2 separate regions of the Homo sapiens genome follow, and region 2 is linked to region 1. The links are contacts of gene promoters, found by promoter capture Hi-C in human tissues and cell types (Jung and others, 2019). All regions are on one chromosome and are shown on one strand. The core of a region is centred on a gene start or on the middle of the fragment in contact, and the rest is flanking DNA. Distances in the headings are between cores, read along the strand shown. Region 1 holds the start of SLC15A2 (solute carrier family 15 member 2). Region 2 overlaps IQCB1 (IQ motif containing B1).

Region 1 (6,797 bases), core at 3,545-6,044:
TTCTCTGAATTAACCAGGAAACAATTGCTCACCAAATCCTGTAACTGTACTTCTTCAATCTTAAAGGAAGTTATTTTTAAAATAAATAAAAGTGGTATGTCATGTATATGAATCTTTATTCTACAACTGAATAAATAGATTATGGCTTGCACTTTTTATTCTGCAAGTAGTGCCAATCTCCTATCTAGATAAACTTGGTGACTACTACTACATATGTAGCAAATGTAGATCTCAGCTACTCACCCACCATTCCTCTCCCAAGTCAAGAAACTGTTCAGTACTGTGTTATGTCTATAGATATATATTAGGTGCTGATTAAACACTTATAGAATAATGAACATATATCGGCCAAAGTAAGCTATAAACCATTGTTTACTAAAGAGAATTCCTTGGAACACTGGGTCCACAAAATATCCAGAAAAAATATTCCATAGTCAAACTGGTTTGGGAAACACTACATACTACAACCTTCTATGGAGATTTTATAGTTCATATTAGCGTATTTAAGGCTATAAGAAGTCATGCAGTAAGGGAACATTTTTAGCTTTGCTCAGCCTAACAGTTTCCAAACTTGTTTGACCACAAGAGCTTTATTTTCCCACATAACTTATTATATTTTATAGTTTTGAACAGAATGCCCTTTGAGAAATGCTCATTTAGACAAATCTATGGATGACAGGTCCATAGAAAATAATTGGGCAGGGGATAACCACGATCCATTTCTAAGCTTATCAGTTTAATGTTATAGGGGACAATTATAACATTATACCATGTTATATCTCTTGGTGCTGTGTTCAGGGACTTAAAAGATACTGAACTGAATGAACCAATAGTCTAACTCATGAAAATATTAGATTCATAAGAAGGAAACTACAAAAGACATTAGAGAAGAGAAATAGATGGTAAAAGAGCTGAAAAGAGACACTCATAAGAAGATCCTAAAGGAGGTGGGATAACTCAATCTGGAGAAGAGATGGAGAAAGTATCAAATAACTACATAAAAGCATCAAAATTTCAATTTTTTTTTTTTTTTGAGACAGAGTCTTTTTCTGTTGCCCAGGCTGGAGTGCAGTGGCATGATCTTGGCTCACTGCAACCTCTGCCTCCCATATTCAAGCAACTCTCCTGCCTCAGCCTCCCAAGTAGCTGGGATTACAGGTGCCCGCCACCATGCCTGGCCAATTTTTGTATTTTTAGTAGAGACGGGGTTTCACCATGTTAGCCAGGCTAGTCTCAAACTCCTCACCTCAGGCAATCTGCCCGCCTCGGCCTCCCAAAGTGCTGGGATTACAGGCGTGAGCCACCGCACCTGGCTAAAATTAGAAATTTGCTGGTGGATAGTGCTGTCTATCTCCAACAAGATCAGAGCAAGATTTAATATTAAACTATGGAATGGAAGGTTAAAATTAGTTTTAAGGAACAAAAGATACCGCAACTGAAGAGGATGTAAACACATTGGAAAAATTGATAATGAAAAGAATAGCCTTTCCTTGTTACCACAGAGATTCTTTTTTTTTAAATTTCCCACACTACACAGATGTACAGAGATTCTTATTTTTCACGCATGACATAGGTATGTTCTTACTCAGAAGCAAGAGGCTAGAAGTGATAGCCTTCTGCACAACCTGTGAAACTTGTAGGGATGTGACCTCCCATCTTCCTTACTTGAATTTTCCCAACCACGAGTCAGCAATGGCTGCTCCCAGGATGGGAGTAAAATAACAGAGGCTGCTGAAGGCATGGTATATAGATGTGGAGGTATCTTCATTCCAGTGCAGGAAATACAGGAAATACAGGATCAGCACAGCTGTAGTGGGAAAAAAAAGGAGGCGTGGGGAGACAAAACAAGATAGATGCATTAAAGTGACTTATGGAAAAAAATATTTAATCTCTGGTCTTTATAATGTGATTTTGGCCTTCAGCACTCCTATCAGTGACATGACTGAGAAGTGACTGCCAGGCAGTAGAAGCAGGGCCCCATGGGAGTTGTGGGAGTGAATGGGACTATGTTGAATGTACAAATATAATACTCCTCCCTTCAGTCTATGTGCACCCCTAGCATCATTTAGGCCAACCATGAACATAACATGGTGCTTCCAATATCCCTTCCCTCTCCTCTCCTTCCCAGCAACAAGATGATAAGACCTCTTATCTGAATTCCATTCTTCATACCTGTTCCTCAGGTATGAGCCCTTAGCCAAGAGCTGTTAGCTCATACCTGAGGAACAGGTATGAAAAATGTAACTGAGATAATGAGAGCTTTCCCTCCCCCCCCTTTTTTTTTTTTTTTTTTGGAGATGAGTTCTTGCTATGTTGCCCAGGCTGGAGTGCAGTGGCCATTCACTGGCACAATTACAGGTGCCTGATAACCTTGAACTCCTGGGCCCAAGCAATCCTCCTGCTTCAGCCTCCCAAGTAGTGGCGACTACAGGCACATGCCATCATGCCCAGCTCCACCCACTTACCCATTCTCAAAGTCTATGTTCTGGTTTGTCTCAGGCCTTTCTGATCTTGGCCTACATATTAGGTGAAATCCTATGAGAGATTTATTGGAAGTCTTGGCCAAAGTAAAGGACCAATTTGGACCAAGGCAGAAAGAGTGGACTCGGGAAATAAGTGCATATAAAGAGACCAGGCTGTCACAAACATGGGGTGAGGGTGGGTGGAGGAGAGTAGGTAGGACTCTTGGACACAAAATTACCTTTCATTCCATAATAGGAAAAGCGCTCGCAGAATTCATTCACCACAATGAAGGCAATGCTCAGTGGATAGTTGGAGCCACAGATTGTCTATTCAACAAGAAGGCAATGATTCAAGCATGAGCTGTTTTTCCCTGTTTCAACAATTAGATTTCTTCAAAACTGAAAAATTCATTTATTTCAAATCATCTTGGTAGGTAATGGAGCAATGGTCTCTACTCTTCATGACACACCTATTAGGTAACACTAAAAGTGCTTATATTACTGATTTAGAAATAATAGAAGCTACTCTGAATATTATTTTGTTTCTTATTTATTTTACATGGACTTGCTCAAATATTCCTTGGACCTGCTCATCTTCCCACAACTACTAAATGAAAAGCCTAGGGCTCTGGGGCAGAAGAATGGTGATATTTACTTCCTAGGAACAGAATAAAGAGGTAGCCTATGGAATACCTGATATCCAAGCAGTGAGATTCAGATGTCAGTCTCTGCTTAGCCCCACTATGGGGACTCTTGTCCCCAGCTGTTCTGTTTGCCATGCTGGGAGGAATCCTGGCAATATGATAGCTTCTACTTCAGAGGCTGCTGGAGTCAGGCACAGAGCCCAACATGGAGGACAGAGATTCCTAAGGGTAAGCTAATTGATCACCTTGACTTTAGGCAGAGTTCTTAAATCCTGTAAAATTAAATGTCTACTCTTCCTACTAAAGAGATTCTATAACATTTTCATGATAATCCTACTGGACATTAAAAGAATTATGCTTTTCATGTAATATATCAGTCAGAATATAAGGAATGTTATGTTTTATTTTAATTCCCTATCTATTACAATAGACCAACTAACATGAGAAGAGACATAGAGGTATCTGTCCTCAGTACAGTCAAATCTTGTAAGATTTATATTGCCTCATTTCATGAGAAGTATATACATCTTTGCAAGTAGCCCTAAATTCTTTGGGACCAGAAGAGATATCATTAACTAAAAAAATAGGCAAAATAATAAAGTAATGTATTATTCTTTTAACCCTAGGGATATATATAAATGATCCTCCTAAATATTAATATATTTTAATGTTTTATAATAGCTTGTTTGAAACATACAATGAACTGGGCTTCTTACCTTTGCAGCTCACAGCTTGAGAATTATGCAATCTGGAGTTTAGCCGACACACTGTTAGCTAGTTAGGCAACACTGCCACTGGCTGTGTTAACATACTGATACTGGCATTGTCACTACACCTGTCTCAAAACCTCTGTTCTGTTATTCCAAAGAAATGAGAATAACATCACCTTTTGGCCCACTGTAAGAACTCAGTAAATTTTGGCTATCATTACTATATCCTCCCCACTTACAGAATTTTAGTGTAAGAATTGACTGAGATGATGAGTTTAGAAGTGCTTTAGCGAGTATATAAATGCAAAACATTACTATTCTCTGTTTCTCTGTCCTATCTCCCACAGTAAACTGGGAACACATAGTAACAGAAATTGGATCTATTCTGAAACTTCCATTGGTGTTCAGCAGAAGACTCTGCACACAGGGAGAACTAAGGGCAGAGTTTTTATATTGGTAAAGAAAGAACAATCACACACAGTTCTTCAGACAAGAATGCTTGCCAAGTTTCCCTGGACATTCGAATTGCTTTTTTCCCCCAGGGAAACAGAATATGCAATGAAATTCAGCAAGTCCCTGGATCCCAACTGAAGAACTTTGACTACCTCTTCCTGCTGCTTTGTCTTCTTATGTAAAGGAAGCTTCTGTTTAGATTTGGTTTCAGGTGAATTCTAAATCCAAGAGAGAAGCATTTTAATACCCTAATACAGCTCAGCTGGAAGCTCCAGAGCCCAAGGAAGAGAGCCAAAAGAGGGAGGCCATTCCTCTCAGAGGCAGGATTGAATCTAAGGACTCACCGGAGATGGCTTCTTTGGAGGGCTAGGTGGTCGAGGTGGTACCTCTTCAATGGAGACAGGTGAAAAAAGAGTTTCCTTGGACTCATTTTTCTGGAAAGGATTCATGGCTGGCTCCTTACTCTCTCTCTCTCCTCAAGCATTTGGCTTTAGTAGGCAGTTAGGACAGCTGCCAGCCTACTCTGAAAAGAAGGACTGGGAGGGGGAGCTGGTGGCTTCAGCAACTCAGTTTAACTCTGTGGGTGTCAGCTTCAATAGCTTCCTGATCCAGAGCAAAGCAGGAAGCTATAGTTAAAAAGAATGTGTAAAAGTACAGCACAGCAAAGTGAAAACATGCCAAAGACAGAATGAAACAATGCTAGAGAACTGATTAGAAAGTCTATGTTTAAGAAAGATTATCTTTGCAAAGGAGTAGAAGATAGTTAAGAACACAACACCTCGAGCACAGATTGAAAAACTGATTCCATGGTCAGGCGCGGTGGTTCACGCATATAATCCTAGCACTTTGGAAGGCCCAGGCAGGCGGATCGTTTTAGGTCAGCAGCCTGGCCCACATGGTGAAACCCCGTCTCTACTAAAAATACAAAAAAAAAATTAGCTGGGTGTGGTGGCGGGCGCCTATAATCCCAGCTACTCAGGAGGCTAAGGCAGAAGAATCACTTGAACCTGGGAGGCGGAGGTTGCGGTGAGCTGAGATTGCACCATTGCACTCCAGCCTGGGCAACAAGAGCGAAACTCCATTTCCAAAAAAAAAAAAAAAGAAAAACTGATTTCAGGGTAACAATAGCTGTAATTTATTGAACATCTACTATTGAAAGGTTAATATATATGAATTACATCTATGTTGTATATCTATAACATATATATTTATTCTAATTCATATTACTATCCCCATTTTATAGAAAGTAATGTTCCCAGAGGTTAAGAAATTTGTTCAAAGTACCTGTCCACTAAGTGGCAGATCTGGAATTTTCACTATGCCATGACAGCTGGGAAAAGTGGAGTTAGTGTCAGTCATTATTCAGGTATGGAGGTTACATAAATGGAATGTAGGAATGCAGAGGATTAAAATGCATTGGAGAAGGAAAGTCATCATAAAACTGAGTTTGGAAGATAAGAAAGATGGTGAGTTTTGGCTGGGTGCAGAGGCTTACGCCTGTAATCCCAACACTTTGGGAGGCCGAGGTGGGCTGATCACAGCTCAGGAGTTCAAGATTAGCCTGGCCAACATAGTGAAACCCCATCTCTACTAAAAATACAAAAATTAGCTGGGTGTGGTGGCACGCGCCTGTAGTCCCAGCTACTCAGGAGGCTGAGGCAGGAGAATCGTTTGAACCCAAGAGGCAGAGGTTGCAGTGAGCCGAGACCCCACCACTGCACTCCAGCCTGGGCGACGGAGCAAGACTTGAAAGAAAGAAAGAAAAGAAGGGAAAGAAAGGAAAGAAAGAAAGAAAAGAAGGGAAAGAAAGGAAAGAAAGAAAAGAAAAGAAAGGAAGGAAGGAAGGAGACTTTTGTTTTCAACATCATAAAAGTTCAGCTAGAAATAGCCTATAAGCAATTAAAGAGGTGGGGCTAAAGAAAATGAGAGAAAAGGATTGGTGATATACATTTGGGAACCATTGTTCTTCTTTGCTAAAGTCACTCCTTATATTTTCATTTTCTCACTTCAAGATTAATCTATTCTTTCATTTAATAAATAAAATTTAATTTGAGCAAAAATTGTGAACCAGTTACTTTCTAGGTACTGTTGTGAACACCATTTTCCTTAATTATACATTTAGTCCTTATCAGAAGAGGAACAAGAACAAACATCATAATGCTAGGTGCATTTTATGCTGTGTTATTTTTGTCAAGCCAAAGAAGTAAAAGGATAAGAAAAGAGCATGGTGCCCCTCTAGTTGTTTGTCAAAAGAAAAGGGAAAAGAAAGGCTAGAGAGCTATAAAAGAAATAAGAAAAATGAAGACTAAATCAACAAGGTCAGGCAACATCAGAATGAATTATTTTATTTGAAAATACAAGAGAGAAAACCTATAACTCTATCCCTCACAAAATTTTTACTTTAACTATTCAAATAATTTATTGACAAATAGGGCCAGGATAAACTGTCTTTTCCTCTCTAAACTTTAACTCAGACTTTGACCATATCTTCTCAGCTTCTATTACACCCCTCATTTCTACTGTCTCCC
Region 2 (6,362 bases), core at 130-2,629, 69 kb after region 1:
CATAGAGACCATTCTTGGGTTTGAGGCTCTTTTGAATGTTAGTTTACAGAAAAACCTTTTATTATTGGGACTTCTGACTTATGTACAGGAAATGACTTTTATGTACAATTTTAAGAGGACCTTTTTCTCTAAGTGACTTTCTCTCCTCTAATGTATATTGTAAAGTGTTCCTACTAGAGTTAGGTTTTGCCGTTTGTCCTTCTGATATAAGGAATATGCAAATGAGTATTTTGCAAAAAGTAGATCTATTGGAAGGTAAAATTGGTATGAAATTAGTGTTTGGTTTCCTTATGTATCCCTTGCAAACAAATCCTACTTGGGCATTTTTCAGCTATTAGGTGTCTAAAATGTATTAGTTAACACAAATGCTTTTCATAAATTAAACTCTCAAGGTATCCTATAGCTTTGAGAATGATTATAGCCAATTCACTGAAAACTTAGCTTCTCTTTATTGTGAGCCAAGTGTCTTTTATTTGCTGAATGAGCTGATATGTAGGTTTTTAGGATACATAAATCCCAGACCTAAGTACAAGCATGGTCCATACCACTGTTTACTTTTCTAGAAAGTTGTTAGACTAATTTTTCAACAAAAATTCTTTATTGTCTTGGTAACAAAAGAAGCATACTAAAAATTCTCAATAAGGCACAGTGTCTCTAGAAGCTTGAGCATTCAACATAAACTTCTAATTAACACGAACTTGTGCTCTTATTTCAGCCATTGCTGTGTGGGCTTGGAGCCAGGAGAAGATGCAGAGGAATTTTACAATGAATTACTTCCATCAGCTGCAGAAAATTTTCTAGTTTTGGGGAGACAATTACAAACATGTTTTATCAATGCAGCTAAGGTATGTGTTTATTTAGTCTTTTGTAGCTAAATCAGTTTAATTCTTAAGAAGCTGTTCTGTTATTTTTTAAATGTGCAATATTTGGCTGAAAGTACAATTAAAGTAGTGAATTTAAACATTTTCAAAGTTACAACCTTCCAAAAATCATCTCTATGTTTGAAAAATTTTTAATGCTGACTGAAGCTTGCCATTTGATTTTTTGAAGGATCTGCCTTGCTACTTTACTTGTTGGGCAGCACCCATAGACAATTATTTCCATAACATCTTTCTAAACATACTTTTTACTTAAATTAACAGTAGAGGAAAGTATGTTCTCTAGGGCTAGGGCTTTTCTAAGTAGCTCCAGTAGTGAAGAATAAAGGTGAACTTCCTATTTGATCTCTCATATCTTCTCCAGTCAAAATATTCAACCCAAACATAGGGGTCTTTTCAAGTATTTCTTGGTTGCATTATGCTAGATGCTATACATGTGCTCTTTTTTTGACCCAGGGATTTAGAAGTGTGTTGCTTAATTTCCAAATATTTGAAGATCTACTAGATACTTTATTGTTATCAATTTCTAATTTAATTATGTTTTGGTCAGATAACATTCTCTATATCATTTCAATCCTTTGGAATTTTTTCAGACTTGTTTTATGGCCCTCCGCATATGTTTTATCTTTGTGAATGTTCATTAAAAGAAACTTTTGTGGGCTGGGCGCAGTGGCTCACACCTGTAATCCCAGCAGTTTGGGAGGCCGAGGCGGGCGGATCACCTGAGGTTGGGAGTTTGAGACCAGCCTGACCAACATGGAGAAACCCTGTCTCTACTAAAAATGCAAAATTAGCCGGGCATGGTGGCACATGCCTATAATCCCAGCTACTTGGGAGGCTGAGGCAGGAGGATCACTTGAACCCAGGAGGCAGAGGTTGCAGTGAGCCAAGATAGTGCCATTGCTCTCCAGCCTGGGCAACAAGAGCAAAACTCCATCTGAAAAAAAAAAAAAAAAGAAAAGAAAAAGAAACCTTTGTTTTGCACAGTTCCATCTTAACTGAAACTCGTGCATGTCAGAACCATGCAAAGGTTTTGATATGCACAGGTTTTATTTAATATGGTGCCATGCAAAAGCTAGGACTACTTGTATACCCAAATGTGAACTCTGCAGTTGTATGTAATGTTCTATAAGTGTTAATTAGGTCAATTTGGTTAGTAGAGTTGTTGAAGTCTTCTAAATTCTCTTTTTTTTTTCTTGTCTACAGTTCTACTTTTTAGTGAGCAAGGGTATTAAAATTTCCAACTATGGTTGCGGATTTGTCTAATTCTGTCTTTAGTTCTATATGTTTTTGCTTCATGTATTACAAAGCTCTGTGATTAGATACATACACATTTAGGAATATTATATCTTCTGGATGAATGAAAGCTATTATCATTATGAACTGGTCTTTTTTTTTTTTTTCAACCTTACTCATGGACTCAGGTCACATGAAATGATATTTATCTCTGATAATAGACCTTATCTTGAAGTCTACTTTGTTTACTATTACGAATATTGCCACTCCAGTTTTCTTATGATTAGTGTTTACATGATACACTTTCTGCAGTTTCACCTTTCATGGTTTCAGTTACCCATGGCCAATAGTGGTTCAAAAATATTAAATGGAGAATTCCAGAAATAAACAATTAAATTTTAAACGGCATGCTGTTCTCATAGCATGATGAAGTCTCATAGTGTCCTTCCCAGGATGTGAAGCACCCCTTGACCAGCATATCAGCACTGTACAGGCTGCCTGCCAGTTGGTCACTTAGTAGCTGGTCTCAGTTTTCAGATTAAAAAAAAAAGTATATATAGGGTTCAGTACTATCCACACCTTCAGGCATCCACTGGGGGTCTTGGAATATGTCTTCCATGGATAAGGGGGAGACTATTGTACATCATTTCTCAACCTTTACTTTTTAACCTCTGTCTTATACTTAAAATGAGTCTGTTTTAAATAGCGTATTGTCAGGTCTTGCTTTTTCATCTAGTCTGACAAGCTGTTGTTTTAAAGGGTATCATTTACTTGCATTTAATCTAATTTGTGCTATGGTTAGGTTTAATTCTACCATTTTGCTATTTTTAAGAAATTTGTTCCCAGTTTCTATCTTTTGTGCTATTTTGTCATGTATTTTACTTTTACATATATTATGAAATCTACCATGTGTTATTTTTACTTTAAATAGTGTATTGACTTTTCAATAATTTAAAGAAATGAAAGAAAAATGATTTTTTTATATCTACTATGTCTGGTTGTCTTTATTCCTTCAAACAGATCTGAATTTTCATTTGGTATCATTTCCTTTAAGCCTGACAACCTCCTTTAGCATATCTTACAGTGCAATTCTGCTGGTAATGAATTCTCTCAGCTTTTTGGTTATCTGAAAATGTCTTCATGATGCCTTCACTTTTGAGGAATATTTCTGTTGCATGTGTATAATTCTACTTCATCAATTTTTTTTCCTCTTTTTGCACTTTAAAGATTTTTTTCCATTGTCTTCTGGCATCTTTTGTTTCTGATGTAAATTCAGCCTTCATTCTTCTTGTCATTCTCCTATACATATTGCACCTTTTTATCTTTGGCTTTTTTAAGATGTTCTCTTTGTTTGGTTTATTTTGTTTTATTTTCAGCAATTTTACTTTGATGAACCTTGTTGTAGATTTCCTGATGTCTATCTTGCTTGGAGGTCCTGAGTTTCATGTGTCTGAGTTAATGTATTCATATTAAGAAAATTTTCAGCTAATATTTTTTCAAATACTTTTGTTTGCCCTATTCTCTCTACCTTCACTCTGGGACTTCTGGTTGTTGAGGCTGCCTTCATCCTTTTCTTGTTGTTGTTTACTTCAGTTTCGATAATTTCTATTGTTCTGTCTTCAAGTACACTGACCCTATCTTCTACAGTGTCTAATGTGCTAATAATCCTACCTAGTGAATTTTTCATTTCATATATTGTATTGTTCTATGATTTTTATTTGCTTCTCTTATTGATTGTTTACCATATTTATTATAGTTATTTTTAAGTTGTTGTTTATAAATCCAATACCTGGATCATTTGAGAGTCTTTTTATTATCTGTTTTTTCTCTGGGTCAAATTATCTGGGTCAAATTTTTCTGCTTCTTCACATCTCTGTTAATTTTTTGTTTTATAATGGTAACTGTGAATGACACATTGTAGAAATTCGTATCTTCCTCTGAAGACTTGAGAGCAGTTAAATTCTGGCAGATCAATTGTTCCTGTGGAGGCTTGGTTTTAGCCTTTCTTTGGAGAGGTTTACTTCAGTTTTGCCATTAGAGTATTGCCCTTAGTCCTGGTTCACAGTCCTTATACCTAAGGTGAGATCCTTCTGTGGTTTAAATGGAAAGCCCACCATGTTAACCCAGACCATCTGACTTGGAAGAACCTAAACTCCAAACTCTGTATACCCAGCACTAGGCAAAAGATGAAATTGCTGGTAATTTCTTTCAGCCTTTCAGCTGTAGATTCTTCTGGGCTCCGTGGAGCCTTTTCTCTCATATGTACAGTTTAAGAGTCAAGAATTCAATGGAAGTTTGTATATAGATTTTGAAGCTCTGTACTTTGTGGATCACTTCTTTAACTGTTCTGGCAGCCCCAAGCTCCAAATTCTGACTCCTCAGCCAAGTTATACTGCAACTTCTTATTTGAACTCTTTCCCTATGTTGATAAACACACACTGGGAAAAGCCAGGCATATTAGTCAGGTCTCTCCAGAAAAACAGAACCAATAGAAGATATATGGAGAGAGAGAAAGAAAGAGAAAGTGCTTGATTATAAGGAATTGGCAATTATGGAAGCTAACAAGTCCTGAGATTTGCAGTTGGTAAGCTAGAGACCCAGGAGAGCTGATGGTATAGTCTGAGTTTAAAGGCCTTAGAATCAGGAGAACTGATAGCATAGTGCTAGTCCAAATGCCAGCAGACTCGAGATCCATGAAGAAGCAGTGTTTCAGTTTGAGTCTGAAGTCAGGAAATACTGATGTCCCAACTCAAAGGCAGTCAGGCAAGAGGAATTTCCCTTTATGTGGGAGAGGGTCAATCTTTTGTTCTACTCAAGCCCTCAACTGATTGTATGAGGCCCACCCACATTAAGGAAAGCAATCTGCTTTACTCAGACTAAAAATTTAAATGTTAAACTCATCTAAAAATACCCTTACAGAAACACCCAGAATATCTTTGACAATCACACAAGATAAATTTAGATTTCAGTCAGTACATTTTATTTCAGGATCATGTCTGTGTGCCTTTGCTTGCTATCTAAAACCTTCAAACAGTTGCTTTTTATATTTTTTCCCGAGTTTATACATTTGGTCAGCAAAAGCTTAGGTCAACAAACTATGGCCTGTGGGCTAAATCCAGCTTATTTTTAAAAATTAAGTTGTATTGGAACACAGCTGCACCTATTTGTTTATATTATCCATGACTACTTTCACTATAGCCACAGAGTTCAGTAGTTTCTAGAGACTATAATGCCTAAAATATTTTCTGGCCCACAACTAACAGGAAAGTAAGTTCTATAAAGGGGAAGAGTAGGGAACAACCAATGTGAACAAGAGTGATTCCAAAAAGCTTTGTGGAGCCAATGGTACCTGGTCTATCTATCTCTAAAGCATGGATGAGATTTGGAAATATGAGGGCATTACAGGCAGCGGAAATGGACAAGACCAGGAAAGAGGAATAAGTATGACATCTTTGAGTCCCAGTGCAGATTCCTACCAGAGTTAGATAGAGTATTCTCATTCAGAAAGATTGAAGGCCAGATGCAGTGGCTCACGCCTGTATAATCCCAGCACTTTGGGAGGCTGAGATGGCAGGATCACTTGACCCCAGGAGTTCAAGACCAACCTGGGCAACATAGCAAGACCTAGCCAAGTGTGGTTGCACATGCCTGTCTTCCTAGCTACTCAGGAGGCTAAGGCAGGAGGATTGCTTGAGCCCAGGAGCTCACGGCTGCAGTGAGCTATGATCACGTCACCGCACACCAGCTTTGGCAACAGAGCAAGATCCTATCTCTTTAAAAAAAAAGAAAAAAAGAAAAAAAAGGAAAAAACAGAAAAAGTTTGAACTTGATTCTACGATAGTGAAGAGGCTTTTTTTTTTGAGGAGACATAAGAGTATGCTGGAGAGAGCGGAAGAAGAGACCATTTTAAATTATTGTAGTAAGCTAGAAGAACTAAGGTAATAAGTGTCTTGACTCACTATGACTTTGGAAAAATAGAGGGTCAAATGAAATATTAAGAAAAAAATTGTAAGAATATAAAAGGTGTACTATCAGACACTGCTTTTATACAGATAATATATAATATATTAATGATGAGTCTAAGTTGAGTCTAAGGTTTCAAGGCCCTACAGATGTTTAAGAGAAGTGATAAGCCAGAGGTAAAAACTGGGAAAAAGGATGCAATCCCTTTGAAGTTAGTTGCATTTTCAAGTGGAAATGTCTAGGATGGAATTGAAGTTGGATTGAGAGATCAGGACTATGGCTATA

Evidence for each region. The method cuts DNA at HindIII sites, captures the fragments that hold promoters and counts their contacts. A contact is called where the count stands out against the background at its distance.
Region 2: a contact is called between a fragment that was not itself captured here and the fragment with the promoter of SLC15A2 in region 1, in 2 of the 25 tissues and cell types used here (H1 embryonic stem cells and hippocampus).

What each region holds. Positions count from the first base shown.
Region 1 is chr3:121,892,398-121,899,194 of GRCh38, reverse strand. SLC15A2 (solute carrier family 15 member 2) reads right to left here and starts at 4,794. Exons shown (of 22, transcript NM_021082.4): 1 at 4,614-4,794; 2 at 2,702-2,789; 3 at 1,666-1,807. The coding sequence starts at 4,718. RefSeq lists enhancers at 5,302-5,834, 5,835-6,368. The HindIII fragment of the contact is 16,247 bases long and covers 2,593-6,797 here.
Region 2 is chr3:121,820,534-121,826,895 of GRCh38, reverse strand. IQCB1 (IQ motif containing B1) reads left to right here. Exons shown (of 15, transcript NM_001023570.4): 5 at 716-845. Among named protein-coding and RNA genes, the nearest start is that of IQCB1, 11 kb to the left of the region's middle. The HindIII fragment of the contact is 3,467 bases long and covers 1-3,112 here.